6 separate regions of the Homo sapiens genome follow, and regions 1, 3, 4, 5 and 6 are each linked to region 2. The links are contacts of gene promoters, found by promoter capture Hi-C in blood cells and fetal thymus (Javierre and others, 2016). All regions are on one chromosome and are shown on one strand. Each heading gives the region's core, a stretch centred on a gene start or on the middle of the fragment in contact. The rest is flanking DNA. Distances are from core to core; before and after follow the strand shown. Region 1 holds the start of ENDOD1 (endonuclease domain containing 1). Region 2 holds the start of PCF11 (PCF11 cleavage and polyadenylation factor subunit). Region 3 holds the start of DYNC2H1 (dynein cytoplasmic 2 heavy chain 1). Region 4 holds the start of DCUN1D5 (defective in cullin neddylation 1 domain containing 5). Region 5 overlaps MED17 (mediator complex subunit 17). Region 6 holds the start of TAF1D (TATA-box binding protein associated factor, RNA polymerase I subunit D).

Evidence for each region. The method cuts DNA at HindIII sites, captures the fragments that hold promoters and counts their contacts. A CHiCAGO score of 5 or more calls a contact.
Region 1: the fragment with the promoter of ENDOD1 here is called in contact with the fragment with the promoter of PCF11 in region 2 in 1 of 17 cell types (non-activated CD4 T cells); the score reaches 5.5 in non-activated CD4 T cells.
Region 3: the fragment with the promoter of DYNC2H1 here is called in contact with the fragment with the promoter of PCF11 in region 2 in 3 of 17 cell types (fetal thymus, non-activated CD4 T cells and naive CD8 T cells); the score reaches 11.3 in fetal thymus.
Region 4: a contact is called between a fragment that was not itself captured here and the fragment with the promoter of PCF11 in region 2, in 1 of 17 cell types (fetal thymus). The highest score is 5.9, in fetal thymus.
Region 5: a contact is called between a fragment that was not itself captured here and the fragment with the promoter of PCF11 in region 2, in 1 of 17 cell types (fetal thymus). The highest score is 10.5, in fetal thymus.
Region 6: a contact is called between the fragment with the promoter of TAF1D here and the fragment with the promoter of PCF11 in region 2, in 2 of 17 cell types (activated CD4 T cells and monocytes). The highest score is 7.1, in activated CD4 T cells.

What each region holds. Positions count from the first base shown.
Region 1 is chr11:95,088,118-95,092,819 of GRCh38, forward strand. ENDOD1 (endonuclease domain containing 1) reads left to right here and starts at 1,729. Exons shown (of 2, transcript NM_015036.3): 1 at 1,729-2,110. The coding sequence starts at 1,811. RefSeq lists enhancers at 1,131-1,410, 1,481-1,540 and a silencer at 1,551-1,980. The HindIII fragment of the contact is 8,670 bases long and covers 1-2,676 here.
Region 2 is chr11:83,155,397-83,159,785 of GRCh38, forward strand. It overlaps PCF11 (PCF11 cleavage and polyadenylation factor subunit), which reads left to right and starts at 1,735. Exons shown (of 16, transcript NM_001346413.3): 1 at 1,735-2,235. The coding sequence starts at 2,044. RefSeq lists silencers at 1,311-1,390, 2,841-2,900 and enhancers at 1,591-1,640, 1,705-2,494, 1,791-2,040. The HindIII fragment of the contact is 1,033 bases long and covers 785-1,817 here.
Region 3 is chr11:103,108,111-103,112,860 of GRCh38, forward strand. It overlaps DYNC2H1 (dynein cytoplasmic 2 heavy chain 1), which reads left to right and starts at 1,316. Exons shown (of 89, transcript NM_001377.3): 1 at 1,316-1,659. The coding sequence starts at 1,465. RefSeq lists enhancers at 909-1,028, 1,099-1,148. The HindIII fragment of the contact is 957 bases long and covers 891-1,847 here.
Region 4 is chr11:103,088,920-103,093,461 of GRCh38, forward strand. It overlaps DCUN1D5 (defective in cullin neddylation 1 domain containing 5), which reads right to left and starts at 3,241. Exons shown (of 8, transcript NM_032299.4): 1 at 2,868-3,241; 2 at 308-399. The coding sequence starts at 2,953. RefSeq lists enhancers at 2,361-2,978, 2,979-3,596, 3,526-3,575, 3,646-3,695 and a silencer at 2,541-2,835. The HindIII fragment of the contact is 1,980 bases long and covers 861-2,840 here.
Region 5 is chr11:93,785,751-93,790,417 of GRCh38, forward strand. It overlaps MED17 (mediator complex subunit 17), which reads left to right. Exons shown (of 12, transcript NM_004268.5): 2 at 2,251-2,417. Among named protein-coding and RNA genes, the nearest start is that of MED17, 3.8 kb to the left of the region's middle. RefSeq lists an enhancer at 817-1,316. The HindIII fragment of the contact is 4,008 bases long and covers 1-3,541 here.
Region 6 is chr11:93,738,851-93,743,339 of GRCh38, forward strand. It overlaps TAF1D (TATA-box binding protein associated factor, RNA polymerase I subunit D), which reads right to left and starts at 2,645. Exons shown (of 6, transcript NM_024116.4): 1 at 2,472-2,645; 2 at 387-481. The coding sequence starts at 454. C11orf54 (chromosome 11 open reading frame 54) reads left to right here and starts at 2,822. Exons shown (of 9, transcript NM_001286069.2): 1 at 2,822-2,878. RefSeq lists enhancers at 1-267, 2,305-2,814, 2,943-3,628, 3,395-3,514, 4,035-4,489. The HindIII fragment of the contact is 24,379 bases long and covers 603-4,489 here.

The DNA of each region.
Region 1 (4,702 bases), core at 479-2,978, about 12 Mb after region 2:
TTCTTTTTTGAGACAAAGTCTGGCTCTGTTGCCCAGGCTGGAATGCAGTGGCACAATTTTGGCTCACTGCAACCTCCGCCTCCTGGGTTCAAGCGATTCTCCTGCCTCAGCCTCCCAAGCAGCTGGGATTACAGGTGCCCGCCACCACACCCAGCTAATTTTTTTGTGTTTTTAGTAGAGACGGGTTTCACCAAGTTGGCCAGGCTGGTCTCAAACTCCCGACCTCAGGTGATCCGCCTGCCTCAGCCTCCCAAAGTGCTGGGGTTACAGGTGTGAGCCACCCATTTATTCTGTGCCACTTCAATCTACCAGTCTCTTCCCTGATAGCAAAAAGAATCGAGTCACCACCTTTAAAAGATGAAAATCCTCAACATGATTTACAATATTTTTTCCAAACTGCAGGTCATGAGCCATTAGTGGCTCATAGAAACAATTTAGTGGGTCAACACCAGCACTTTTTTAAAAAAGTGAAGTAGAACAGAAATATGAAATTGCAATGCCAATCATAAGCATAAGAATTATTTCATCAAACTTTTCTCATTATGGGCCTTCTCAAAAAGTGTTTGAAGGCCTCTGGCCTATAATAACCTGAGTAATATGACCCCTGCCTCCTCCTTTAGCCCCACTTCCCATCATCCCCCACGCGGTTCTCCGCGCTTTACCCACACTAGCCTTCCTTAAATTCCTCCAATACATCATGTTCCCTTCTGTGGGAGACCACTTAGCACATGGTTTTCCTCCTTGCCTAGTTAATGTCATCCTCCAGGTCTCAGCTCAGATGCCACTTCTTCAGGCAAACCTTCCCGGATTACATCCTGAACCCCTGTAGCTGTCAGGGTCTCACAGATCTGTGTTCAGTTTTTAGTTATCCCTTTAATAGCATGTTTCCTCGGTTAATGACAAACTTTCCCACTAGGCTGTCTTTGTGACCGCAGGAGCCCTGCTCTTGTTTACCCCTGTGGTAATCCAGTGCCTATCTCAGGCTGGCACCTAGGCATTCAGAGGGATAAATGAAGGAAAGAATTGGCCAACCTGTTGACCAATGACGTTGGCTGGCCTCCTTCCTTGCTTGGTATCGGTTTTGTTTCTAACACTTGCACCAAGAAAACCACACAGGGTTATACTGTCTGCCTAGTTTAGGAACTTCCTTTAACAGTATTTCTTTACTCTCTGAGTTTCTGGTGAGCTAAAAAAACATAACAAAAAACAAAAAACTCCATCAAAATTGTATGCGTGTGCTGGTCGTTGAGTACTTCGGTGGAGAGTGGGAGACGCATCTTCATGAAATTTCAGAGGGGAACTCTGCCCATCCACTCCGAACCAGCCGCAGCTCCACGAGCATCTCACGCCACCCCTCTGCATCACCAGGGCGGCCGTGGGGCGCGCGCGATCAGCAGGCTTCTTGGCGCCCAGTCCATGCGACTATCTCTTCCCAGCCCCGGGACTAGGCCCGCCCCACTCGGATTCTCCACTCTTGGTAGCGCGCGTCCCCCGGACTGCTGAGACCAGGCGGCGCGGAGGCAGGTGACCCGCGTCTCCAGTCCCGGGCGCAGCCCAGGGTACGTTGTCAGCATCGCGGAGCGCGGCCCTGGGCCTCTGCAGCCATCTTCAGGGAGGGAGGCGCGGCCTCCCGACGCGGACCCGCCCCCGCCGCCCGGGCCGCCCCGCCCGGCTCCGCAGAGCGCCGCGCCTAGGTTGCGACTTCCCTTCCCTACCCTGCTCGGCTGCGTAGTGCGCTCCCCGCCCAGCCTGCAGAGCTCGCGCCGCGGCAGCCCAGCCGCTCGGCCCCGCCGCGCTCGCAGAGGCCGCCATGGGCACCGCGCGCTGGCTCGCGCTGGGCAGCCTCTTCGCCCTGGCTGGGCTGCTGGAAGGCCGGCTCGTGGGCGAGGAGGAAGCCGGCTTTGGCGAATGTGACAAGTTCTTCTACGCCGGGACCCCGCCTGCGGGGCTGGCGGCCGATTCCCACGTGAAGATCTGTCAGCGCGCGGAGGGTGCTGAGCGCTTCGCCACCCTCTACAGCACCCGGGACCGCATCCCCGTGTACTCCGCGTTCCGCGCCCCGCGCCCTGCGCCCGGCGGCGCCGAGCAGCGATGGCTGGTGGAGCCGCAGGTAAGCGAAGTGGTTCCCGAGCCGGGCTGCGGGCGCCGGAGACCGTGCCGCTGGACATGCCCCCAGTTGCAGCTACCGCGAGGGGCGGGCCGGGAACAGCAATCCCTACGCCTTCGGTGCCTTGGGCCAAGAAACCCGGGTTCCAGGTCCACCCTGTTGCGTCCCCGGAGTTAGCCTGCCTCGCCCCTGTCGAGCTACAATAAGAGCCTGGCGATCTGCGAGCCTTCACTTCATGAGCTGCAGGGCGGGAGGTCCCCTGTGGGAGGAGGTTCTCCCTGCATTTCTGAGCAGACATCCGCAGTGTTTCATTCCTGAATGGTGAAGAGCTTGATACAGAGACCCTGGAGACCGTTCAGATCCGCAGAAAGCCTAGGCTGGGCGCTCACAGGCCTTCGTGCAACTTATTGCCATAGCACTCATTTGGAGGTGGGTAGGTGGGCATTTTCATCCCCATTTTACAGAAGAGGAGATAAACCCAGGGGGTGAAGAGACATATGGAAGACTACCCAGTTAGTAAGATGGGGCAGGTCTCTGTCTAGAAATTCACTGCCTTTTCTACTAAGTAAAGCTTCTCTTCTGCAGAGCTCATCCTAGCCTGAAAATCCTTCCTCTACCACGGCGTTGAGTAAATTCGATCTGCGGTTGTGTTGAATTAGAACAATGAAATAAAGATACAGATTTTTAGAAACGCAATGGGGTAGTTAAAAATGATAGGGAAACATTGACTACCTCCAACTGATGGAAAGATAAGCCAGTTTTTCCTGACTCCTCATATCTATATTATCATACCACTAGGAAATCGTGTCACCTCTCATGGTGTTCTGTCCCGTCTGGTAAAGGTGACCAAACACTTGAGAAGCCCTCAGAGTCTTCCGAACCTGCTGGCCTGCTCTTAATACCTCTCCTCAGTTGGCCTCCTCTCTAGAACACCCTGCCAGACTCCCCTTTGCCCTCTCACCAGCCTCCCACCCCTGCCCAGGCTGCTGGGGGAAGAACTGACCCAACGCTCTCCCTTTCCTGACGGCCACAGCTGCCCAGGACCACACCAGTGGACAGGAGGCTGGCTTTCAGGTGCTTTATTCAGAGCCTGTGGGTTGTAATCTCATTCAGATATTTCTAGCTCTGAGGTCTTGGCCAGGTCTCAAACAATCTGCACCTAGTTTTCTTATCTTCCTCACATCCTTCCACCTACCTCAACTGTTGATAACACTTGTCGAGATCAGGCATGTGAAAAAGACGTTGTCAGTTGCACACACAAGACACATTTAAATCCAAAATTAGTTTTCCACCAGCTGCACCCCTAGAGCTCACAGGGTGTTCCCCACCTCTCATCTTGCATTGTGATTGTGTGCCTGCGAAGAAAACAAATGAGCTAGTTCTTTCCCCTTGATCTCATGGACAGCTTGGGGAGACAGAACATACGTCTGAGGAAATCATGGGAATGGATGCTAAACAAATTTCAGTTAAATTCAGAACACATTTAGTGACTCCTGCTGTGTGCCAGATATTTGGGACCAAGAGATCTGAGTGCAGTTCTGGAACAAAGGCTACCTGATCTGCAGGTGGAGTTTGCTGGGTGGAGAGGTGGTGTAGTATCTGATTAGAGCCATGCTATGTGGGTTCATATCCTAGTTGCTCCACTGACTAGCTATGAACTTGGGCAGGTTAAATTGGAGATAATAGCATAGGGTGGTGTGAAGATTTAATGAGTTACCATATATAAAGTTCTCAGGTGTGTGACACATGAGTACTAAGTACTAGCTGTTGCTATGACCTAAGCAAAAAACCATAATTTAATAAAGGTGAACAAAGTCCTATTAGATTTAATCTGTCTTTGAGGTGATGGAAGCAAGCCTTAGGGTCAGGATGACATTTCTGCTGTGTGTGGAAAGATAAGGCAGAGTTTAGAAGGGAGGCAAGGAGGAGGACATTTCAAGCAGAGGGAACAAACATCATGAGTGAGAAAGGCATGGCAGATTCAGGGATTTGTGCGTGAAGAAGTTGGAACAGGTAAACTAATACAAATAGATGAATGCACTCAATTGCTCAGAATAAAAAGGAATCATGGAAGGGAGGGATCAGGTGGGGAGGAGCCACCAAGGAAGGCTTAGGGAGGCAGAGCCATTTATGCAGCTAGGGAAGGAGTGAGTCGTAAAGGAGCATAGTTTGACAGAAAGAAGTACAGGGAACCAGGTAACATGGAGACCCTGGGTGAGATAATGAGGAAGGGGACTGTGGAGATTAAAGAAGATGGGAAGGGAGGGTGGAAATAGTTACAAATGGCAGCTTGAGAGGTAAGATGTACAGCGGTTCTGAAGAGTACAAGGGGCCTGAGTTCCTGCTGTGCTGAGAGGTCAGAATGGTCACTGTGGCTGAGCACTGCAGGATGCTTTTCCCTGCAAGGTGGCTGGCCTCCCACATCCACCCGCTCGACCTCAAGTCAAGTCAGCCAGGATCCAGAGAGTATTGGGAGAGAGGGAGGGAGGAGGAGGTGTGAGGTGCAGCTGGGCCTGGAGTGCACTGCAGCAAACCTGCCCCCACTGTTGCCTGCTCCCTGAGGCCCTGCCTCCCAGCCAAGATCCCCACTGCAGA
Region 2 (4,389 bases), core at 485-2,984:
ACTTTATGCAGTTCATTATGTTTCAATTAGACAACAATAAAGATGCTAAAAAACTCAAAGAAACAAAAAGAAGAAATGAAAATGTTACTTTATATGGGACAAGTAAAGAGTAGTTTGTTTGTTTGTTTGTTTTTTGAGAGAGAGTTTCACTCTGTCGCCCAGGCTGGAGTGCGGTGTTGCGATCTCGGCTCACTGCAACCTCTGCCTCCCGAGTTCAAGTGATCCTGCCTTAGCCTCCCAAGTAGCTGGAATTACAGGCGGCCGCCACCATGCCCGGCTAAGTTTATTTTTTAAGAGCAATTTCTTCTGGGGAGCAACAAATTATCTCTCAAATGCCTAGTAGCCTACGGAAGGCAATGGAAAAGCAATTTTAGGTAATTGACACTTTTTTTTTTTTGAGACAGACTCTCGCTGTCACCAGCCTGGAGTACAGTGGCGTGATCTCGGCTCACTGCAACCTCCACCTCCCGGGTTCAAGCGGTTCTCCTGCCTCTGCCTCCCGAGTAGCTGGGACTACTATAGGCGCACGCCACCACGCCCAGCTAATTTTTGTATTTTTAGTAGAGACGGGGTTTCACCATGTTGGCCAGGGTGGTCTCGATCTCTTGATCTCGTGATCCGCCCGCCTCGGCCTCCCAAAGTGCTGGGATTACAGGCGTGAGCCACCGCGCCCAGCCCGTAATTGACACATTTTAAAAGCTTATATTTAGGTCAATATCGCTACTCAATGAAAAAATTACGTTTGGTTTGTGTTATGTCGCAGCTCCACGGTGAACTATTTGAAAGCTTTGTGTGTTTTACGAGCATCATTTCCAACCTGGGAAGACAGCCCCACAAGTTTAAAACAAAAGTGCATGCGCGTGTGTGTTTTCCTACGTGCCCCAAATAGTGTATGCTAAGGAGGTTCTGAAATGCAGATTCACAGTGGAGATATTACGGTCCAGCTGGGTGTGGCTGTTGTGAAAAACTCTTCCTAGAGCTCATAGTGGGCTCCTTAAAGAGCTCCTCCAAACCCCCAAGGAAAAAGCCTTTCACACTTAATCTCTAAATAAAAGGCATTTTCCTGGGGATTCAAGTCAGGCAAGCTCGCCTAGGTATTTTTGTGGGTGTGGGAAGCGGCGTGCTGGAAGAAACTCTCCAGCAGTGCTTTCCGAAGTTCCGGGTAAATTGGGCACCTCCCTCCCACTTCCCAGTTCCCAGAGGGGCAGCTGGACCCGCCCTGGCTCTCCAGAGCACCTGAGACGCTAAGGGAGAGGGGGTGCGGCGGCAGAAAGCCTCCGCTCCCTCCAACCCCCGCTCCCTCCAACCCCCACCGTCGGTAGCAGCTACGGGGCAGGCGGGAGGAAAGATGATTGACAGGCCCGCTCAGTGGCTGGGAAGCTAGAGGGAGGGACGAAGAGGGGACGGCTGAGTCTTCTTCTCAAAGTGGTTGGGTTGGGCCGCGGGAACTGCCTTCCCAGGCCTATTGGCTTCCCTGAATGGGTTGTTATGGTAACAAATGACCGAACAGTCCCTTATGAATCGGCCAATGAGAAGGGCCGTCTTTTCCAGTGCGCCTCCGAGCAGTAGATGTTGCGAAAGTCCGGGTAGAGGCCGGAGAAGAAGGCGGTGCCAGGGCGTCCTGCGGAAGGGCCGGGGGCGGGGCTCGTGACGTTGCCGGGACAGCCAATCACGCCTGGTTTTATCAGTGGCCCCGCCCTTTTACCGCACATTTCCCCTCCCCTAGTTCATTTCGCACGACGCAGCGGTTGGGAACACAGACATTTTCGGAGCTGGAGCCGCCACTGCCGCCGCCATTTTGTGTCTGTGGAGAAAGAAGCTTCTGTGGCGGCTGGAAGTGGACGGAGATCACCCGCGAGACGGCGGCGTTTCATACCCGAGGTTCCCCCTGTGTCGTCCCCCATCCCCCCTCCGCGGTCAGCATGTGGTGAAGCCGGAGCCGCGAGAGAGCCGGGGAGAGGAAGAGGAGTCGGAAGGGAGGCGGGGTATCCAGAGCGGCTTCAGCTTCAGCTGCAGCGGACCTCGGAGGGGGGCCGCGGCGCAATGTCAGAGCAGACGCCGGCCGAGGCCGGTGCTGCGGGGGCCCGGGAGGACGCCTGTCGGGATTATCAGTCATCGCTCGAAGACCTGACCTTCAATAGCAAGCCGCACATCAATATGCTGACCATTCTAGCCGAGGAGAACCTGCCCTTCGCCAAGGAGATCGTCTCTCTCATCGAGGCCCAAACCGCCAAGGTTTTTATACACCCCGCAGCCTCCTATTACTTCTAATACTCCCTGATTTTAGTGTCAGCCTCATCCCAGGTCTCGCTTCCATCCCAAGGGGGACAGTGTTCCTTCTCTCCAACCCCCCCACCCCCCTCCAACTCAGGCTCGGTCTTTGGCCCAGGCTTCGAGCATGGGCCTCTGGGGGGGAGGGAGTGGGGAGGATAAAGGGTGGAGTCCCACTTCCGCTTTCCAACTCCCTTTTTAGGCCACCGCATTGTATATCCCGACACACACACGCTTTGAATAGAGCCCTTTGGGGTGGGGGAGACTTAAAGGCAGTTTGTGGTTTGGGGAAGTAAGAGTTAACATAAGCCATTTTAATTCCCTGGGAAGTGGGAGAGTGGGTCTCCCATTTTCCCCAAGCACCCTTTTTGGTAATTGTGTTCTGTGGGTTGGAAGGAGGTGAAGGGGGACCTGGGAGCGAGCTGTTGGTGGGTGGGAATAGGGATTTGGCCCCGAGTGGAGCAGCCGCCTGTTAGGAGCCCAACATGGCGCCTGAAAAGCACATGATGCGAAAGGGAAGAGAGGAGAATCCATTCCCTGCCAGCCAGGCAGCTGCTCACTCCCGTCAGCCCCATTTTGGGGTGGGGGCGGCTAGATAAAACTTTTATTCTCCTATTGGAGGGTCTAATTTGTCCCAAAATAGGGGCAAGTGGGGTTGAGGGTGGGGTTTGGGTGGGGGGAGGAGATCTTATCCAACCTGTAGGTGGAGAACTGGCCCAGAGGGTAACAAGTACTTGCAGTTTCTCTGAAAAGTTCAGTCCCTCCTCCTCTTCCTTTTCTCTTTTTCTCCCTTCCCTGATAGCGAAGGAGTGTTTTTCTTTACCCCTTGACAGAAGTGGTCCTCTGCCACCTTATATTTCCCTGTAGTCCTCCTCTTCTGTGGATTCATATGGGAGCGATATGTCATTTAAGTAAAGTTACTGTTCAACTTAGTTACAATGAGTTTTAATAGCGTCCCAGTGCTACATTTTATTTTTCAAGCTTGTACTCACGGTTTAGTTTTTTCTAGTTGTTAGTGATTGCAATTATCAGGATGAGCCTCCTTTTAGCAGAGTGAACCCCTTTTTAAAGGCCACTTTAACAACAACCACCAATATATTGTTTAGAGACGGTTTCTGTCTAGTGTAAAACTTGAGTGGTCTGACTCTAATAAATGGTTTTGAAATGTGTGACTGGTATTATAAAATTTGTGAATAAAACATATAAAATATGTATTTGTCTTTTTTATTTACCTTTGTAAGGTGTAGAATCTGTTTCCAAGACTTATTTTTATCTACGTGGTTGTGTGTTTTAAACAAAAGTCTTTAAGTGACTTGGGTTCATTCTTCTTTAGGTTCCATCCACTCTTTTGGGTAAACCTCTTCACAAGATACACGGTTTCAGGTGGTCCTTTCATAATTTAAAGAGGACGAAAAGGAAGGGTTTTTTTTCTTTTTCCTTTTAAGGACCTCAACAAGTTTATCATGCTCAGTCTGACAGCTAAGATACAAGTTTTCGTTCACTTTTTCCTGTGAAAGTGTATGTAAAACAGCTTTTTTTTTTAAGTGTGAGATTTAAAAAGGAAGCATTCGTCATACTCAACATGCTTTTTATTGATACCACAAACATCTTGGACATGAAAACTTAGTTTTTGCCTTGTTGAAGGCTTAACTTGACATTAAATGCCTTAAAGCACTTGTGTTTTTAAGGCAAAAACATTGATTTTTAAAATCTAATTACCTCGTATCTTGGGATTTAATATTCCACAGCGCCTAATATTTAGCAGCTCAGGTTGTCACTCAAAGAACCTTGCTGGTTTTTAATGGATCCGGAAGACCTTCGAGAACCGAAAACTAAATGCTGAATATAGTGACCACATAAAACTTGTGTTTGTATATCGCTACACAGTGATGAAAATAGATGAGCTCTTTGCTGGTAAAAGACAGCTGAAATTTTGGGGGCACACGTTTCCTGGTTATTTTTGTAAAGCCAGGTTGAGGAAAAGATGTAAAAGTCACTTTGGGGGATCTATCTTAATCTGGGTTGGGATCGAGGGTGAGGGGAGGGATTTCCGTTATTTGGTAGCAAACTGGCCTGGTTTTGTGTTTTGGAGGTGAATGTTTGTGTCCTTATTCTTTA
Region 3 (4,750 bases), core at 66-2,565, about 20 Mb after region 2:
TGGCTTTCAAAATCTTTTTATTAGCTACACAGTCATCTTGGGTTCCTGTTAGGATTTTTTCCCTCACCCAGTGGTCAGCATCCCACCTCACTGTTTGGATGTTTTCCCATCCAGTGGCCAGACTCCCATCTCTCACTGTTTGGATATTTCATGAGAATTTACATTCATTTCCTTTTATAATTTAGAGCAGTTCAGCTTTTTTAAGTTCCCACTCCAAAATCTTAAGTTGCTCAGCAAATAAAAGGACTCTCTCCTTCCAATTCTCAAATAGTATAGTTTTAAGGGGAGGTTATGATTATTAAGTGCAAACAAAAAAAATCTGCATATGTTTGTGTACCCTAGGATCTTGGGTCAAACCAGTGCTGAGGTGATGAATGACTACAGCAAAAACTTCCTGAGGGCAGGAACTGTGTCCCCAGGGCCTAGTTCGGTACTTGGCAAATTGTGTTAGATTGGTGCAAAAGTAATTACAGTTCTTGCCAAAAAACCGCAATTACGTTTGCACCAACCTAATAGCATGTAGTAAATATTTTTAGAAGAGAATTACTGAATTGAGAAAGTGTTTGACGAATGTTCGGATGAATGACCAGCAATTTAGTAGTTTATAGTAATGCCATGAAGTAGAAAATGACAAAGACCGTTTTCATATCTGTATTTTCACAGAATTTGGTTGCGGTTGTTATAAAATAAACTAAAAAGTATCATTTTACATTTTAGCTATTTTACAAATATGGTTGTGCTCGGGTAATGATTGCAATAAAAAATTGCTGGTTAAATTATTCTAAAATTAATAATAGAAAAAACGATGTTGGGAAATGCAGCAGCACAGAAAGGAGCAGAGGGCGACTGAGAAAGTAAATTAACATTGTATTGAATTCCTAGTCTTTATAAGCTTCTCTAAAAAGCGATTTTTAAATAGTAATCTTTTACAATCCGCACTACACCCCTGGTTGTGAGATAGTATTTCCCCTTCTTAACAGATGTGTACCTTGACGCTGACAGACTGGTTTGCTACCAGGTGCACGTGGAGAGCGAGCACTGGAACCCAGCTCTCCTAAATCTAGATCACGCTGCTGTACTTGAAGGCTAGATGTCTCTCTTCTGATTATGCGTGATAAGAAATCAGTAAGAAGAATAAAAGACATGTTTGAGAGCCAACATAAACTTGTCCGAACCCCTTACAATCGATGACCGCAGGGAGCCGCTGAAGAGCTCCGAGGCGGTCGATAGCCTCCGCGAGCTTTGCGTGCGCGTGCCCCGAGAGGGCAACGCCCACCGCGCGCCGCCAGCGACGCCGCCGTAGTGCTCCGTCGCCATAGCGACTACCCCTGGCAACCGCGAAGCTCTGCGGTCCCGCGGTCGGGCTACGGGTTTGAGCAAAGCTCCTCTCTTCCCTTCACTTCCCTCCGGACTGGTTTCTTCTTCCTTCCCCCTTCCCCCAACTTCCCTCCACCCCTTCCAATCATGGCGAACGGGACTGCGGACGTTCGGAAGCTCTTCATCTTCACTACTACCCAGAATTACTTCGGGTTGATGTCTGAACTCTGGGATCAGCCACTGTTGTGCAACTGTCTTGAAATCAACAACTTCTTGGATGACGGCAACCAGATGCTCCTCAGGGTGCAGCGATCCGACGCAGGAATCTCCTTTTCCAACACGGTACGGTTCCTTGCACTCCTGCCTGACCCCTGACCACTCTTCAAGTCCCCAGGCCCAGCCAGAGGGACGTCGGGTCACACTCTTTAGCTTTACCAACCAGATCCTTTTCAGGAACCCAAGGCTGTCTCCACTTCTCCTGCATTATTGGCTTAGATGCGTTGGCCTCGTGCTTAAGCAGGTAGTTTCCAAGCTTTGCATCCTACCTGACCGAAGCATGTTTCCCTTCCATACATCTGAATAGAAGCAATTAGATTGTGTTTTATTTTAAATTTTTATACGGAGTTTCGTTCTGTCGCTTAGGCTGGATGGAGTGTAGTGGCGCGATCTCTGCTCACTGCGTCCTCCACCTCCTGAGTTCAAGCGATTCTCGTGCCTCAGCCTCCCGAGTAGCAGGCGCGCGCCGCCACGCCTGGCTAATTTTTGTATTTTCAGTAGAGACGGGGGTTTCACCACGTTGGCCATGTGGGTCTCCATCTCCTGACCTCAAGTGATCCGGCCTCCCAAAGTGCTGGGATTGCAAGCATGAGCCACCGCGCCCGGCCTATATTCTACTTTTTAAGAAAGACTGCAGATACGTTATAACTAAAAAGAAAACATTTACTTAGTTATTTTTATTTTTTTCTCTCCCCTTTTTGAGTTTTTTTTTTGGGGGGAAGGCAAATTCTAGTCTATCTTTTTTGGATCAGGCTCTGATTTTAACATTGCCCAAGGGAAAGATTAGTTAGGAATTTAAATTTTTGTGAAATGATATATTTCAAAATAAAGTTTGAATTCTTTTTTGGTGTACATCATGTGATATACTGATTTATTAATTGCACTGCTCCCTCCACTGGCAGGATTGCTTAAAAAATGGGTTGCATTTGCAATCAGGGCTTATATATATAAGCCTAAAAGAAAAACACAGAAGAAAATTGCCTGACACATTAAAGGGGACTCAGTAAATAGATTTAAGTTAATAAAACAAAGACATATTTTAAACCTCTTCCTTTGGTGTTCACCCTTATCCCTAGGTCTAGCAGAGTTTTTGACACTCAGCAAAAACATTCAGTGCCTTTTTTTTTTTTTTTAGACGCAGTTCGCAGTTTCGCTCGTATTACCCAGGCTGGAGTGCAATGGCACAATCTTGGCTCACTGCAACCTCTGCCTCCCGGGTTCAAGCGATTCTCCTGCCACAGCCTCCCAAGTAGCTGGGATTACAGGGCATGTGCCACCACACCCAGCTAATTTTTTGCAATTAGTAGAAATGGGGTTTCACCATGTTGGTCAGGCTGGTCTCGAACTCCTGACCTCAGGTGATCCACCCGCCTTGGCCTCCCAAAGTGCTGGGATTACAGGTGTGTGCCACCGTGCCTGGCTTCAGTGCATTTTTATAGGATGATTGAATCATTCACCCTATTCACTATCTTTATTCTTAGGTTTAATTCGATTGTATTTAATAAACATTTACTTTGAACTCAGTACATGCAAGGCACTTTGCCAGGCATGATGGGTTTACAAAGATATAAAAAGGATGGATAATCATAGCTAACATTTATTTTCACTTTAGACTCTGTCAAGCACTGTTCTAAGTACTTTATATGTATTCGTTCATTTAATAGCCATAACGACATTGTAAGATAGGAACTATTCTTTTTCTTATTTTATGGCTGAGGAAAGTAAGGGACAAAATTTACAACCTAAATGTTAACTTTTCTTTTTCTCCAATAGGTAGCGTAGTTCAGGATAGAGCCCCCTGCTTTCTGCCTTTCCTAGACTCACTCCAGTGGCTTAGGATGACATATACTCAGCAAATGATAAAATCAGGACACACTGTTGTAAATGCCACTGAAAGTTCGGATAGAATGCAGTAGGAAAGATGGAAAGGGGTTTGGATTCGTGAAAGTGTATCTTGGCTTGGGTATTTGAAAGTTGAAGGTAGAACTTTTTTTTTTTAAGTTAAAGCTATTACTAGTAAAGCCCAACGATGTATCTGTTATTTTTAGTTGTACACTTCGCTACAGGTTTTTAGTCATATTTGAAAATATTTTGTTATGTCTTCAGTTGTACTTTAGTTGCCTGATAGTTAGCGTGATTCAATAAGTTAATAAGTCAGCAAATATTTATTGCCTACCTACTAGTACTGGGGACAAAGCCATGAACACAGAGTCCGTATCTTAAAGGAGTAACATTGGAATGGACAAAGGTAGGCTAAACGCATGCTACAGATATATGTAACATAATTTTGGGTATTGATAAGTGCCGTTAAGATAAAAATAATGTTATAGTAGTGATGGGGCAGCGTGGGGAACTAAAGATATATAGGGTGGGAGATAATCCCTCTCTGGATTAGTTATCTTTGAAGCGAGATTTGAATGATGAGTTGCAGGCAGGCATAACCTGGGGGAAGAGTGTTCTAAGCAAAAGAAACTGTAAGTACCAAGGCCCTGAGCTGGGTTTTAACTTAGTTTCCAGGGGCAAGAAAAAAAATCCAGAGTGATTGCTGGAGTTTATGGTATGAAGGAACATTGTGGTAGATGAGAAAGGAGAATAAGGCACAGGCTGATCATTTAGGACACTGTATACCATTTAAATTGAAATAGGAAGTTATTGGTAATCTTAAGCAAGAGAGAGCTGTGATCTGGTTTATGCTTTAGGACAGAGGTTGGCAAAAAGTTTTCTGTAACGGGTCAGATAATATTGCAGGCAACAAGGGCTCCATTAGCAGCTACAACTTGGCCTTTGTAGTGTGAAAGCAGACATGTAATACTTTGTAATAATACATGTAATTGAATGGGAATGGCTATGTTCTAATAAAACTTTATGGACACTGACATGTGGATTTCATATACTTTTCATGTGTCATGAAATGTTATAAGCATTTGAGCAGTAACAAAGTTTCAGCTCCTTTCCAGTGGCCAAAAATGTAATTATTTGGATAGAAATAAGTGGCATGAGACCCATAGCTGTTCTTCCTACACAGCAGTGACCTTGTCTGAAAGCTTTTTAATGTGTAGACTTCTTTTCCTGAAAAAAGAAATGAGAATAACTGAGAATGTGTGTATAATGCAAAAACTTCCTTTGACTAGTATAGTTCTCAGCTAATGAACTCATT
Region 4 (4,542 bases), core at 601-3,100, about 20 Mb after region 2:
TACCTTTTATTTTCCAGAATACTACTTTAGCCAATAGATGTAAATAAATGAATCTTTGTTTACACGTTTTATTAATAGTAAATGAGTTCTTCCCTCCCAGTAAATATATACCGAATATATATTTAAAGAAATATCAGCCTAAATTGGCAACAAATTTTTAGTCTACCCACAATCTTCAGTCCTGACCCTCATCCCAGTACACAGCACTAACACATAGCAGGCCTGTAACAGATAATTTGTTAAATGAATAAGGCAAATAAACTTTTTAAAGCATATGACTAGTATCTTCTTATATTAATTTCATTACCTGCATATTCATAAAACCAAGCCAGGCACTTCTTGCTTGAAAAATGTTCCTCTCCACTTATTAGTCTAGCAGGGGGTTGGGATCTGCAATAGCTTAGAAAACACACAGACGCCTAAGATTTTTATCACATCTCAACTCTTAGAGAAAAACTAAGTTCAAAATTAACAACTTCCATTCACATTAAACAAAGGTTTTTTTTTTCTTCGGTTGGCATTGTTGGAAAAAAACTGAAGTTGTTAAGTAATTGCAACTTGAAACAGTAGTCTATACATAAGAATTATCGGCTAACAAAACCCAAATACCTTTTCACTCAGTATCAAAATCCAAAAATATCAGTAAGTTATTTCCGCACATTTTAAAAGACTACAAAGAAGTTCAACCTAGTAGGTGGGAAAGTATAAATATTTATTATGATTCTATTGATTTGCATAGAAATTCTATTTGTGTGTAATAGATAAATATTTGAAAACAAACTCTTACAAAGTATATTTTGATACTTAATGAATCAATATTTCAAAATAAAATGTTATATTAAGAGTTGTTTTATCACCTAAGCTTAAATAGATTTTTAAAGATAAATGATGACTTAGGACCTAAGGGTATATTAAATTACACAGATTTAAAAAAAACAACAAAAAAACACTAAAAGTTAATAATAGTCCAAATAATTGGGACAAGGCTATTTAATCCTAGGTTCTGTTCATTCTATTTCATTTTTTTCATAAAATCATTTTCATTGTTTTTCATAAAATAACTAAAATTTGGTAAGTTCAAAATGGCCTCTAGAATTTAATGGCCTTCAGAGAAACTTTTTTCAAGGAACTCAAATAATTACCCTACCACAATGATATAGAAATGATAGAACTTCTGTAACTGAGTAAAGTAAGAGTATCATATTTAAAAATTTAAATTGATAGAGCAAAGTATCACCTGAGTTCTAATAATACTGCCTGCTCAGCTATCTTAATGTACTTAACTTAAATAATTTTAATACATTATATACTTAAGATGGCCATGATATAGTACAAAAATGAATAATAATTTGCCTGTATCTTATAAAAATGTGAGCTACTAAAGTAACCATGTCAAATTCTAATGTTGACAAACAAGAGGTGTATGTATCATCGTTCACATTAATAGCCTAATACTCCATAGACTCCTTTACCAAAACACAGTAATGAGGGAAAAAAGTCGACCAATTACAAAAAAGAAGATGCAGACTATGTAAGTCATCTACCTCACAGTTTAAGCAGATCTCTCTTTAAGGAGAGCTCTATCATTATTTCCTTCTTATAATCCTGGCTACAGTCTCCTTTCAATAGTAGCATCTGAAGTTGTCATATCAAGTGCCAACCATTGATGAAAAGGCAGCTAATATGGTTATTTTTTAAAAAAGCATTTCTCAGTCGGGCGAGGTGGCTCACTCCTGTAATCCCAGCACTTTGGGAGGCCGAGGCGGGCGGATCGCGAGGTCAGGAGTTCAAGACCAGCCTAGTCAACATAGTGAAACCCCGTCTCTACTAAAAATACAAAAAATTAGCAGGGCGTGGTGGCGGGCGCCTATAATCCCAGCTACTCAGGAGGCTGAGGCAGGAGAATCGCTTGAACCCGGGAGGCGGAGGTTGCAGTAAGCGGAGATCGCGCCACTGCACTCCAGCCTGGACAACAGTGGAAGACTCCGTCTCAGAAAAACAAAACAAAACAAAAAAACAAAAAAACCATTTCTCAAACCAAAATTGCAGTTTTTTTGTAGCATAAATTTTGCTGTGATGCCTCCATGATATGCTACAAGGGGATCAAAGAGCTACTACTATATAGTTCTGCCTTGTCTTCTTTCTTACCAGTAGGACAGAGTACAAGAGCTCACAAATTATTTAATTTATGCTGAGAGCTAACAGCGTCCTGAATGCTAGAAGACAAAAAGCATGCAGGGCCTTTCCAACTCTGCACACAGGGACTTGGCATAGGTGAGGCACTATACTTCCAGAAAATGGGGCTCCTGCAATTTAAAAGGCCTCCTGCTGGGACCTTCCGGGTTAGGCCACTCCAAATACTAAATATGGAGGCCAATTATAGCATACAAGTTTTCCTTTCTACCATTCCCAAGACAGTTGTCAAGATTCCTTATGTTCTGCTTTCTTCACACTCTACAAAGAAATTCTAGAAGTGACCCTTCTGCGGATATGTACTCACTTCTAAGTCTAGAAAAAGGCAGAGGAGCGATACGGGAGTAGGGGATCGAGGGTCGGTTGTGGGGTGGGGGTGGGGGTGGGGGGAAGCGCAATTTACATATGCATCTGTTCCCCACCCTGCAGGGCACGTAGACTCTTAACGTGGGCGGCTCTTCTAGTCTCTCCATAAACGCCAGCGTGCACACACTCGAACACGAGGTCGGGTCGGGCGCGGAGACTCGCGGTGTTCGGCACCTACAGCCTAGCTCGATCAAAGGGGCCTCACCTGTCTCCAGCCCCAGCCCGGCAGGCCGGGCCCGACTCCTTTTCCTCCAGTTGTCCAGCAAAGGAGGGAGGAGGGAAGCTTGAAGGGTGGGGGGAGATGGTACCTGGAGATTTTACACTTTTTGAGGCCTCCGTCTTCCGCTACTGCTGCTGCCACCCCAGGGGATTTTCTCTTCTTCTTCACCGGCATCTTCCGCCCTCCCCGGCAGGGTGGGCAGGGGAGCCGGGGAAGGGGGTCCCTGTCCGCTGGAAGCCCCTCAGCGCTGGCACCCAGTTCCCAGAGACAGCAGCAAGCGGAGGAGCAGAGTCGCCAGCCCGCACCGGCGCGGCCCAGCCCGGCCGCCGCCCGCTCCCAGGTATCCTCGTCGTCTTTCTCTGACCGGGACAGGGCTGGCTCCTCGCCGGTGGACACTGCGGTTCGTTCTCACCGGGAGGAGATAACGCGGACAGCGCGGCAGCTCCACCAGTCACAGCAAGCAAGAGGCTCAGCCTAACCCGGAGGCGAATCGCTGAGGCCCGGAAGTGACGCAATCGCGGAGCCGGTCCCGGGAAGGGGCGTGGTTCCGGTTAGCCTCTGCCACTCGTAGGTAGGCCAGGCAGAGCGAAGCTGTCTGACCCGTCGACTGCGGCAGTCCGCGGAATTCTTGTATCCTGTCCAGGGTATCCTGACCTTTCTCATGAAGCTTCTACCGCGCTCTGATGCTGGCAGTCACCGCCAAAAAGTGAAACTACTAATACTTTGCAGTTGACGTTAAAAACAACCTGGTAAAGTAGACCAAGTTCCACTTCTGAGCTCTTCCACACGATAACCTCACCTGAAGTGTTCCCACCCCGTAAATGCATTGTCACCCTGTGTCTTGCGTGTTTTTTTTATGGGCCTGTGATCAGCCACCCACTCCCCCTTCTCCCTACCTTTGCATATCACTTTGTCCTGTATTGAAACTTAGCTCTGCCATTATTTCCACAGAGCTCACCTCTCCGATAAGAGACAGTAGGTGACTGCGACTCAGTAGAGAGAAATTTGGGGGACAGTTCTAAGGAACCTCCCCCTAGACCCAAAACACACTGTAATCTATTCATCTCCACTTAGGTGGAAATACTGTTTTTAAATAATGGTTATTGTATGTAAAGACATAGTAGAAAGTCGTTAGTAATTCTGTTGGTAAAATAATCTCTGCAAACCAACTGTGATGGGAGAAGACTAAAAGTCTTTGAGTAATAGTTGAAGTGGTTCCTGTGAAACTACCCTCACAATGGCACCCTAATCTGGTCAATCCGAATATCATATTTCCTTAGTGTTATTAATTGGTTCAGGATGGACACATACTCAGGCCAGGCCAATGAGTGCCAATGACACAAAATTGAACCACCAGAAAGCAATTTTATTTCCTATGGATTTGAACCAGAGAAGGTATGGAGAATGAAGCCAAAACTCAGAAGAGACTAGTATCAAGCAGAAAAATAGAAAAACCAGGATGTGATTATATGATATGAGCCCAAAATCCATGATATGCCCTGGAATTTTCACTTATGTGAAGCAACAAATTTCACTATTTTGCATATTTAGTTCAATTCTCTGTTACTTAAAACCAAAAGAATGTCAAAGTATATGATCCTTCAACCCATTTAAAAATGCCTGAGGCCAAAATCAAAACAGAATCAGATAAAGTCTCTAAATAGAACTACCATCTACAAAAAGTACAGGACAGAGGAACATGTTAAATACCCAATGCAATCAGCAATATCTAGACGTCAGAAAAGTCTACAGGACAATGACCC
Region 5 (4,667 bases), core at 288-2,787, about 11 Mb after region 2:
AGTTCCAACATTTTTGGAGGCCAAGGTGGAAGGATCACTTGAGCCCAGACTTCAAGACCAGCCTGAGCAACATAGGGAGCTCCTGCCTCTACAAATTAAAAAAATTAGCTGGGCGTGGTGGTGCACGTCTGTGGTCCCAGCTACTGGGGAGGCTGAGGGAGGAGGATGGATTCAGCCAGTGAGATCAAGGCTGCAGTGAGCTATGATTGTGCCACCGCACTCCAGCCTGGGTAACAGAACAAGACTCTAACATCCACACACACAACCACACACCTACCTACCTTACAAAGTATAGATATATTACTTACATAAAATTTAAAAATAATGGGAAAAGATGCCATAAGCAAAGTAAAAAGATAAATGACAGACTGGGAGAAGTTCTACACATATAACACAAATTTAGTTGATATCTTCTCTATTCAAAAAGTCCCTTCAGACTGAAAAGAAAATAATGACACTTTGGAAAAATAGGCCAAAGGTATCTGAAGGCTCATAGAGGAGAGACTTCAGATACCAATAAACAGAACATAGACTCAATCTCATTACTAGGGACTGGGAAATTAAAACATGATTAAGATACTCTTTCCATGCACAAAATTGACAGAAATTGAAAAGATTGTTAATATTCAGGGTTAGGAATGTGAACTGGTAGTGATTCTGAAAGACAATTTGGCAGTTTAATATGTGCCAACATTTAATTTTAACTTTTTTTGGTTTGTTTTGTTTTTTTTTTTGAGATGGAGTCTTGCTCTGTCGGCCAGGCTGGAGTGCAGTGGTGCAATCTCGGCTCACTGCAACCCCTGCCTCCTGGATTCAAAACGATTCTCCCACTTCAGCTTCCCTAGTATGTGGGACTGTAGGCGTGCGGCACCATGCCTGGCTAATTTTTGTATTTTTAGTAGAGATAGAGTTTCACCATGTTGGCCAGGCTGGTCTTAAATACCTGATGTCAGGTGATCCACCCTGCCTCGGCCTCCCAAAGTGCTGGGATTACAGGCCTGAGCCACTGCACCCAGCCGAAACTTTTAAATGTATATCTCCTTTGATTCACTATTACCACGACTAAAAATTTAACCTGCAGAAAAAGTTGCACATATACAGGGTATATATTCAAGATGTTTACCACTGCTAGCATTGTTGGAAGCAGTTTACTTGTTGGAAGCAATCTACATGTCCGTTAAATACAAGTGGTTAAACATACCGTACATCCATGTTCCAGAATATCATACAGTGTTAGAAGAATTAAGTAGACTCATAAGTACTAACATGGAAGTGTCTCTAGGAAATATTAAGTGGGGGCGGGGGAAAGGCAAGTAATAGAAAATTGGAAATAGATGTATGTAAGTGCATAGAAAAACCTTTGAAAGGGTACACTCACTGGGGCCGGGCGCAGTGGCTCACGTCTGTAATCCCAGCACTTTCGGAGGCCGGGGCAGGCAGATCACGAGGTCAGGAGATCAAGACCATCCTGACTAACATGGTGAAACCCCGTCTCTACTAAAAATACAAAAAATTAGCTGGGCGTGGTGGTGGGTGCTTGTAGTCCCAGCTACTGGGGAGGCTGAGGCAGGAGAATGGCATGAATCCGGGAGGTGGAGCTTGCAGTGAGCTGAGATCGCGCTACTGCACTCCAGCCTGGGTGACAGAGCAAGACTTTGTCTCAAAAAGAAAAAAAAAAGAAAAGAAAGGCTACGCTCCATCTGTTAATAGTGGTTACCTCTCAGGAGGGGAGAGAATCGGGTGGGGAATGAAGGAAAACTTTCACTTTTTACCCTCTAATTCTTTATTGTGTGAACTCTATATAGTGAATGTTCATGTATTTAATCACAATACTTTTTTTAATGGTTAAAAGGAAGATATGCTAATAGTGGCTGGCTTACAGGTCATTTTCATTTTGTACTTTTCTGTATTTTGGAAATTTTGTACAATTGTAAATTCAAGTTCTAAACACTGTAAGAAGATTATTAAAAAGGTTTACATAAATTTGAAAAGAGATTTGAGTCTATAATGTTGTAATGATAAATTTAACCTGTGGAAATAGATGTCATATTCATTTTGCGATTGTAGGAATGCTAATGTGAATGTTAACAAAGTTTTAAGAAACGGTAGAGGAGATGGCATAAATAAGAGAACAATTTGAAATTTAATTAATTATTTCTCCTTTTAGTACTTTTTAAACCTAAGTGAGCTGTCTGCCATTCAATGTAACGAATACTTCTGTATTTCTTTTTTTTCTCTCTCTCTTTTTAGGAGTGGTAAAATTTCAGCCTTCCCTTTGGCCTTGGGACTCAGTGAGGAACAATTTGAGAAGTGCCCTGACAGAGATGTGTGTTCTCTATGATGTTCTCAGTATTGTTAGGGATAAAAAATTTATGACTCTTGATCCTGTCTCTCAGGATGCACTTCCTCCAAAACAGGTATTTGTGGACTTTAATTGAATAATAAAATTTTATTTATTAAATCCCAGGACCCTTTTTTGGCTTTGTGCCTGTTGTTCCATTTTCCTTTCTTGCAAAATTAAGTCCAGATGAAGATTTAAAGACTAACTGGTCTAAAACAAAGCCATACAACTGCATTTCCTTTATTTTTTTATTATATACCTATGATCCTTGGAAGAGTTAAGTTTCATTAAGAATGTAATACCTTTAAGGCCAGGCGTGGTGGCTCACGCCTGTAATCCCAGCACTTTGGGAGGCCAAGGCGGGCAGATCACGAGGTCAGGAGATCGAGACCATCCTGGCTAATGCTGTGAAACCTTGTCTCTATTAAAAATAACAAAAATAAGCCAGGCGTGGTGGTGGGCACCTGTAGTCCCAGCTACTCAGAAGGCTGAGGCAGGAGAATTGCTTGAGCCTGGGAGGCGGGGGTTGCAGTGAGCTGAGATCGCGCCACTGCACTCCAGCCTGGGCGACAGAGCGAGATTCCATCCCAAAAAAAAAAAAAAAAAGAATGTAATACTTTAAAGGTTACCAAATCTTAACAAATTCTTATAGCCTGGGTCCTTGGTCTGTGATATATTACACAAAAATGTGATGATATAATGGCTTTGGAATCAGGTAGACCTGGATTCGAATCCTGCCTCTGCCTTCATTAACTGTGTGACCTTAAATTAAGCAAGTTATTTTCTCTTAAGTCCCTGTTTTTCCATCTAATCCTTCCTTCCCTTTTTTTTTAAGGGATGGATTAGAAAAGTTAGGCGAAATTATGGAGCATATTGAGAGCTGGGTAGAATTGCTGCTATTTCATAAACAGTGTATTCAATTTTTGAACATTTGAAGATGAAAGAGAAGTAGCAGGAAGATGAGTTGGTGAATAGTCTGAAATCATTGAGGCTACTTGGGTCCTTAAGGAAAACAAGTGTCAAGACCATAACCAAATTAGTCATGGAGAAGAAGTAATGACTGTTAGAACCCATTTGTAAATAAAATTAATTGAATAGAATTACTCACATAGTAATAGTTTCAGAATCTAGAAACATTGTGCTGGGGGACTAATAGAGTTCCCTAAATCTGCATTCTTCATTTTATAGAGAGAAAACTAAAGCTTAAAGAGATTTGTAATATGTTCAAGTTGCTGTCAAGCCAGTAGTTAGGGAGCCAAGACTAGAACTCCAGCACCTAACTCATAGCCCCACTGCCTTTTCTACTATTCTGTGCTTTTCCCAGAAGGGAGTCTCCAGGAATTTCTTAATATCTCCAGGAACTCTTTTATTTACGTTCCCTAATACAATCAAAAGATTATTTTGATATGTTTATGAAGCTTTTTATGTGATTTTTGACTCTCATACAGCCAGAAAACTGTATTAAACTGGTTAGTAAAATACACAAATTATGGTGATTGTGGATATTTATATATGCATATGTGATACATAGATAGTGACTTCTGATCAGTTTTCCAAAAAATTAGGATTCAGTGAAGTACATTTAATATTAACAATGGCAGGGCACGGTGGCTTATGCCTGTAATTCCAACACTTTGGGGAACCAAAGCAGGAAGCCAGGAGTTTGAGACTTTCCCAGGCAACATAGCAAGACCCTGTCTCTACCAAAAAAAAAAAAAAAAGCCAGGCTTGGTGTTGCACATCTGGAGTCCCAGCTTCTCAAGAAGCTGAAGCAGGAGGATCACTTGAGCCAGTAGGTCAAGGCTATGGTGAGCCAAGATGGTGGTACTGCATTCTAGACTGGGTGACAGAACAAGACTCCATCTCAAAAGAAAAAAAGTTAATGCTGTGTGATTTTAGTCCTAATTCCAAAAGCACTTTAATAGCTTATGGTAAGATGCAAAATATGGTAAGCTACAAAATACAAGATAATTTTACAGTTATACCCATTGCAGTCATTCATTCATTCATTAAATCAAATATTATGTGCCAGGCATTGTTCTAGGGTTTGTGGATATAGTGATTTCTGCCATCATGCAGGTTACCATTGAAGCAGAGATTATAGATGTTAATCAGAAGTATAATGAGTGCCAAAAAGGTTATATATAACTATATGTGTGTATGTACAGGATAGGGGGCTGGCAATATATAAGGAGAGGAATGGCAGTACATTAAGAGGGGACCCTAACAGGCTGGACAGAGTTGATGCAATGGTAAGTTCTGAGTAGAGGCCATTGTAGTGTTTTTGGTTTAACATAAGTAAAGCTTTGAGTGAGTTGGACAAAGA
Region 6 (4,489 bases), core at 1,395-3,894, about 11 Mb after region 2:
ACCACTATGCTCAGCTTACAAAAAAACTGTATCTTTCAAGACAATGTATGAGCTCCAAAAGGCTGTATGGTTCGGTTCACTGCTAAGAGTGTCTGAGTAAAACAAACACAGCCTACCGAACCGGAGGATGTAGTCTGGAAGAGATGCTAATATGACCCAAAGAATACATTTTTTCTCGACGAATGTGTCCCATAATATATTCACATTTTGAATTTAAAGTATTTGCAATGCTATTATATCAATCTATGTAACTAGATAAACTTGGAAGGTCAGTGAAATCTAGTTTTCCTTCTTTCCCAATTCCTGAAAATTATCTTTACTGTCACTCATTATATACAATAGTTTCTCATAATTCAGATACAATAAACATGATTGAATCCACTCACCTTCGATTTGCAAGTTCCACAGCATCAGATGTCACATGGTCAAGAGAATCTATTCCTGATTTATCCATCAATTGCTCTTTGTTTTAAACAGTTTTCTGAAATTATGAAATTTAGTAAATATGACAAAGCTTCCCTAAATATTGACAGTATCTACTACAGTGTTGAACGTGGTCAGACTATGCCAATGATTTCAGGCGAAATCATTTACCAAGGTTAAGCTTCTTATCCATTTCAGATCAGTTTCTTTAAAAAGAAATCCAGAAATTCTATTCACAGGTTCTTTCAGTTGTTACCCTCTAAATGTATTCAACGCAACAAGATTCCAAAAAAGTACCGTCCCTTCCAACAAAAGCATCTTTCAATATAAGTAAAAAATGTAGTTTTATCATTAGCCACATATTTTAACGTACAATTACCAATACAGTATTAATGTACAATTAAAAGCCGTTTTCCAAGATCAAAGGGGGAATTCCTAAAGCAAAGTGTGCCCTATATAAACCAGGAAAAGGATCTCCAATCAATAAACCATTTTAAACTCCTAATCACCTCTCCATTATAATTCCTAGATTCTTCATTCCTAGATTCATTTAAGCAACTGAACTTTGTCATATTGTATCTTTGCCATTATTGGTGGAAACTGACAAGTTCTGAATTCTCAACCTTTTTCAATGAACTATCATAATTCTTGTGTCTTCATCCCCATGGTAGAGAGTATACAACATACCAAAAAAAAAAAAAAAAAAAAAGAAAAAGATTCCTTCTTGTGAGCTAAAAGAAAAAAGAAAAACAGGTTGGTCTGGGTGGCTCAGGCCTGTGTAACACAGCACTTTGGGAGGTCGAGGCGGGCGGATCGCTTGAGCCCAGGAGCTCAAGACCAACCTGGGCAACGTGGTGAAACTCCGTCTCTACAAAAAATACGGAAATTAGCCAGAATAGTGGCGCGCGCCTGTGGTCAGGAGGCTGGGGTAGGTGGAATACCTGAGCCTGGGAGGTGGAGCTTGTATGTAGTGAGCCTCAGCAACACAAGGAGACCCTTGTCTCTACAAAAAATTCTTAAAATACTGGCTAGGTGTGTTGGCCCGTGCCTTTGCTCCCAGCCACTCGGGAGGATCGCTTAAGCCGCGGTGGAGGTTGCTGTTAGCCGAGATTGCACCACTGCACTCCAGCCTGGACGACAGAGCAAGACCCTGTCTCAGGAAAAAAAAAAAAAAAAAAAAAAAAAAAAAAAAAGGCATGGCAACAAAAATTAAAGATAACTACTTATTTCATTATTGTACATGCCTTAGTCAATCTCTTGTCTCATTCTGTAGCTTCTTGGGACCTGACATGAGTCATTACATATAAATCCTAGGATGAACTAGCAAAATATTTAAAATATGAAACGATAAGGTCACCAAGAGCTCAGATTTGTTAAATGCCCCCTGTGGTATTTTCCTGGTACAAGGTCTTACTAGTTTTTTTAAGTACAAGATTCTACAAAGTCATTAAATATCGAATGCTCAAAAACGGAATTCAACAAAAATTTGCCCCCATGCTTTAACGGTATACCTGTAGTTAATTTTTTTTAAAAGTAGGGATTATCAAAATAAAGCTAGCTCAATAATCACTTTTTCGAAGTGTTTAGAAGACACTCCTACTTGGGTGTCGATGCCTCCGTGGGGATTCTGCAATTCTTAGAGGCCACGTGGGCAGAGAGCGGCGCTTTACCCGGAGCTAACGCTGTGACCACCAGCGCCTCTCACCCGGCAGCGCCTAACCTGCAGAAAACCGGCGCGAGTAATGGGTACCTCACATACGAAGGTTAAATCATTTAAATCACGTAATAAGGTTAAACTTGTCCGCAACACGATTTAACACCTCCATCTCAAGATATAATGAAGCCCGTCCACACTACAACCACGTTTGTGTGGGACTCATACCAGCCGCGTGGCGCGGAGTGGCCTGCGGCCGTGATCCCTTCACCCTCTCGGACCGACTTCGGAGTCTCGATCCTCCGGACCAACGAAGGGGCCCCGGGAAACCCCAGATATGCAACGCCTCCCCCGCCCGCCAGGCCCGGACGGCCTCGCCCTCTTAGCAACCTACCTAAAACGGCCTCGCAGTGGCCCCAACCGCGCACTTGCTGCTTGTAACCCAGGCCTCGGCCCAAAACCCGCGACTGGCCTGGTGTCCTAGAGCTCTGTACACACCACCCTCCCGACCTCAGCCCTCCAACTCCCGATAACCAGCCGACCTCCTCCAACCGTGCGGAAGAAAAGGGTTGGCTATTTCCGTGGCCCAAGTAATAGTCAGGCCGAAATCTCGCGATACAACTTAGCTTCCGGGAAGAAGGCGAGCGGTGGGAGGAGACGCGACGTGGGGGCGCCATTTTTCTCGCCGCGCAGGGAGGACTGACTAACGTGGGCGGAGCTCTAGCTCGCGTATTCTGAGGAGGCGGGGTTGGCCTAGGCGAAGATCCGGACTCTGGGTGTTTTGCTACCGTGACCGTTTAGGTGAGTGGAATAGCCAAGAACATTTCGGCAAATAACAAAAACAAAACGTGCGGTCACTTGTGAGTGGATGAGAACTGTGAGGAAACAGCCTCTCAGCCCGGTTCGTTTCCGGTGGTCTCGCGTTTGCTGAGCTGTCGCCTGGCTTTCTAAATCTGGTCCCGGGTGTGTGGCGAGGGTGACGGGTGGGATGTGTGCCTGAGTGTTTTGTAATCCTTTGTCTATTTCTGCCTTCAGAAACCCTTGTGTGTTAAAATATTGGAGAAGGCTCATTCTTTGACCATGACTCGAAGTGTGTAACCTTTGTGCTGGACGCCAGTGTTATTCCATAGCACGCCCAGGTCTCCTCCCCACTTTTGCACCTGTTTCGTAAGCTCACCCTTTCTGCCTCCCAGGAGTTGGCTAACATGTCACAAGTGAGACCTGTGGAGGATTTGTTTTTCCTAAGTTTCCTCCTACATCCCCCCTGCCCCACACCATTAGTTCCTTGACCGGTTCCTGAGTTAAGATTAAACAGTGTAAACTAGTTTAGTTTTGGTGGGGTTTTTTTCTCCCAAAGTAATTTTTTTTTTTTTGAGACCGAGTTTCGCTCTTGTTGCCCAGGCTGGAGTGCAACGGTGCGATCTTGGCTCACCGCAACATCTGCTTCCCGGGTTCAAGCGATTCTCCTGCCTCAGTCTCCCCAGTAGCTGAGATTACAGGCGTGCGCCACCATGCCCAGCTAATTTTTGCATTTTTAGTAGAGGCGGGGGTTTCTCCATGTTGGTCAGGCTGGTCTCAAACTCCCGACCTCAGGTGATCCTCCCGCCTCGGCCTCCCAAAGTAATTTTAAAAAGGAATGAACTGGTTTGATTTTTCCGCTTTCAAAATTCTGTTTTCATATGATAAACCACAAAAATCAGTAAAGCTGTCTAGTCTTATTTTATAGTTCACATTTTAGGATTGAACGGGCCTTAAAAGTAATCTGGTCTCTTTACCTGCTTTGCTCCATAGTTTGGACAATTCCGGGGATAAAAAGTCCGATCCTTTAGGCAGCCCACTGCATTTGATCCACAGGGTCTGGGCAATGACGAAGCTCCAGGACTGGTATGGCATGTCCCTCACTGCCGTATTCAGCAGCAAGCCTAGCTGTGTAATTTGTGAGGCTCAATGCAAAATGAAAATGCAGCGTCCCTTGTTCAAAAAGAAGGGGAAAAGTGCTATTAAAGGGAAGGAACATTTAACTCCTAATGCAGAATCATTGAAATTTCACATTTCATTTTGTATTTTTTCTTTTTTCTTTTTTTTTTTAGAAACAGAGTCTCGCTCTGTCGCCCAGGCTGGAGTGCAGTGTGGCCCGATCTCAGCTCACTGCAACCCCCACCTCCCGGGCTCAAGAGATCCACCCACCTCAGCTTCCCAAGTAGCTGGGACTACACGCGCCCGCCACCACAACCGGCTAATTTTTGTACTTTTAGTAGAGACCAGGTTTCACCATGTTGGCCAGGCAGGTCTCGAACTCTTGACCTCAAGTGATCCGTCTGCCTCGGCCTCCCAAAGTGCTGGGAGTACAGGCGTGAATCACCGCGCCCGGCCACATTTGGTATTTCTCTGTTTGTGTTATAGAGACAGGGT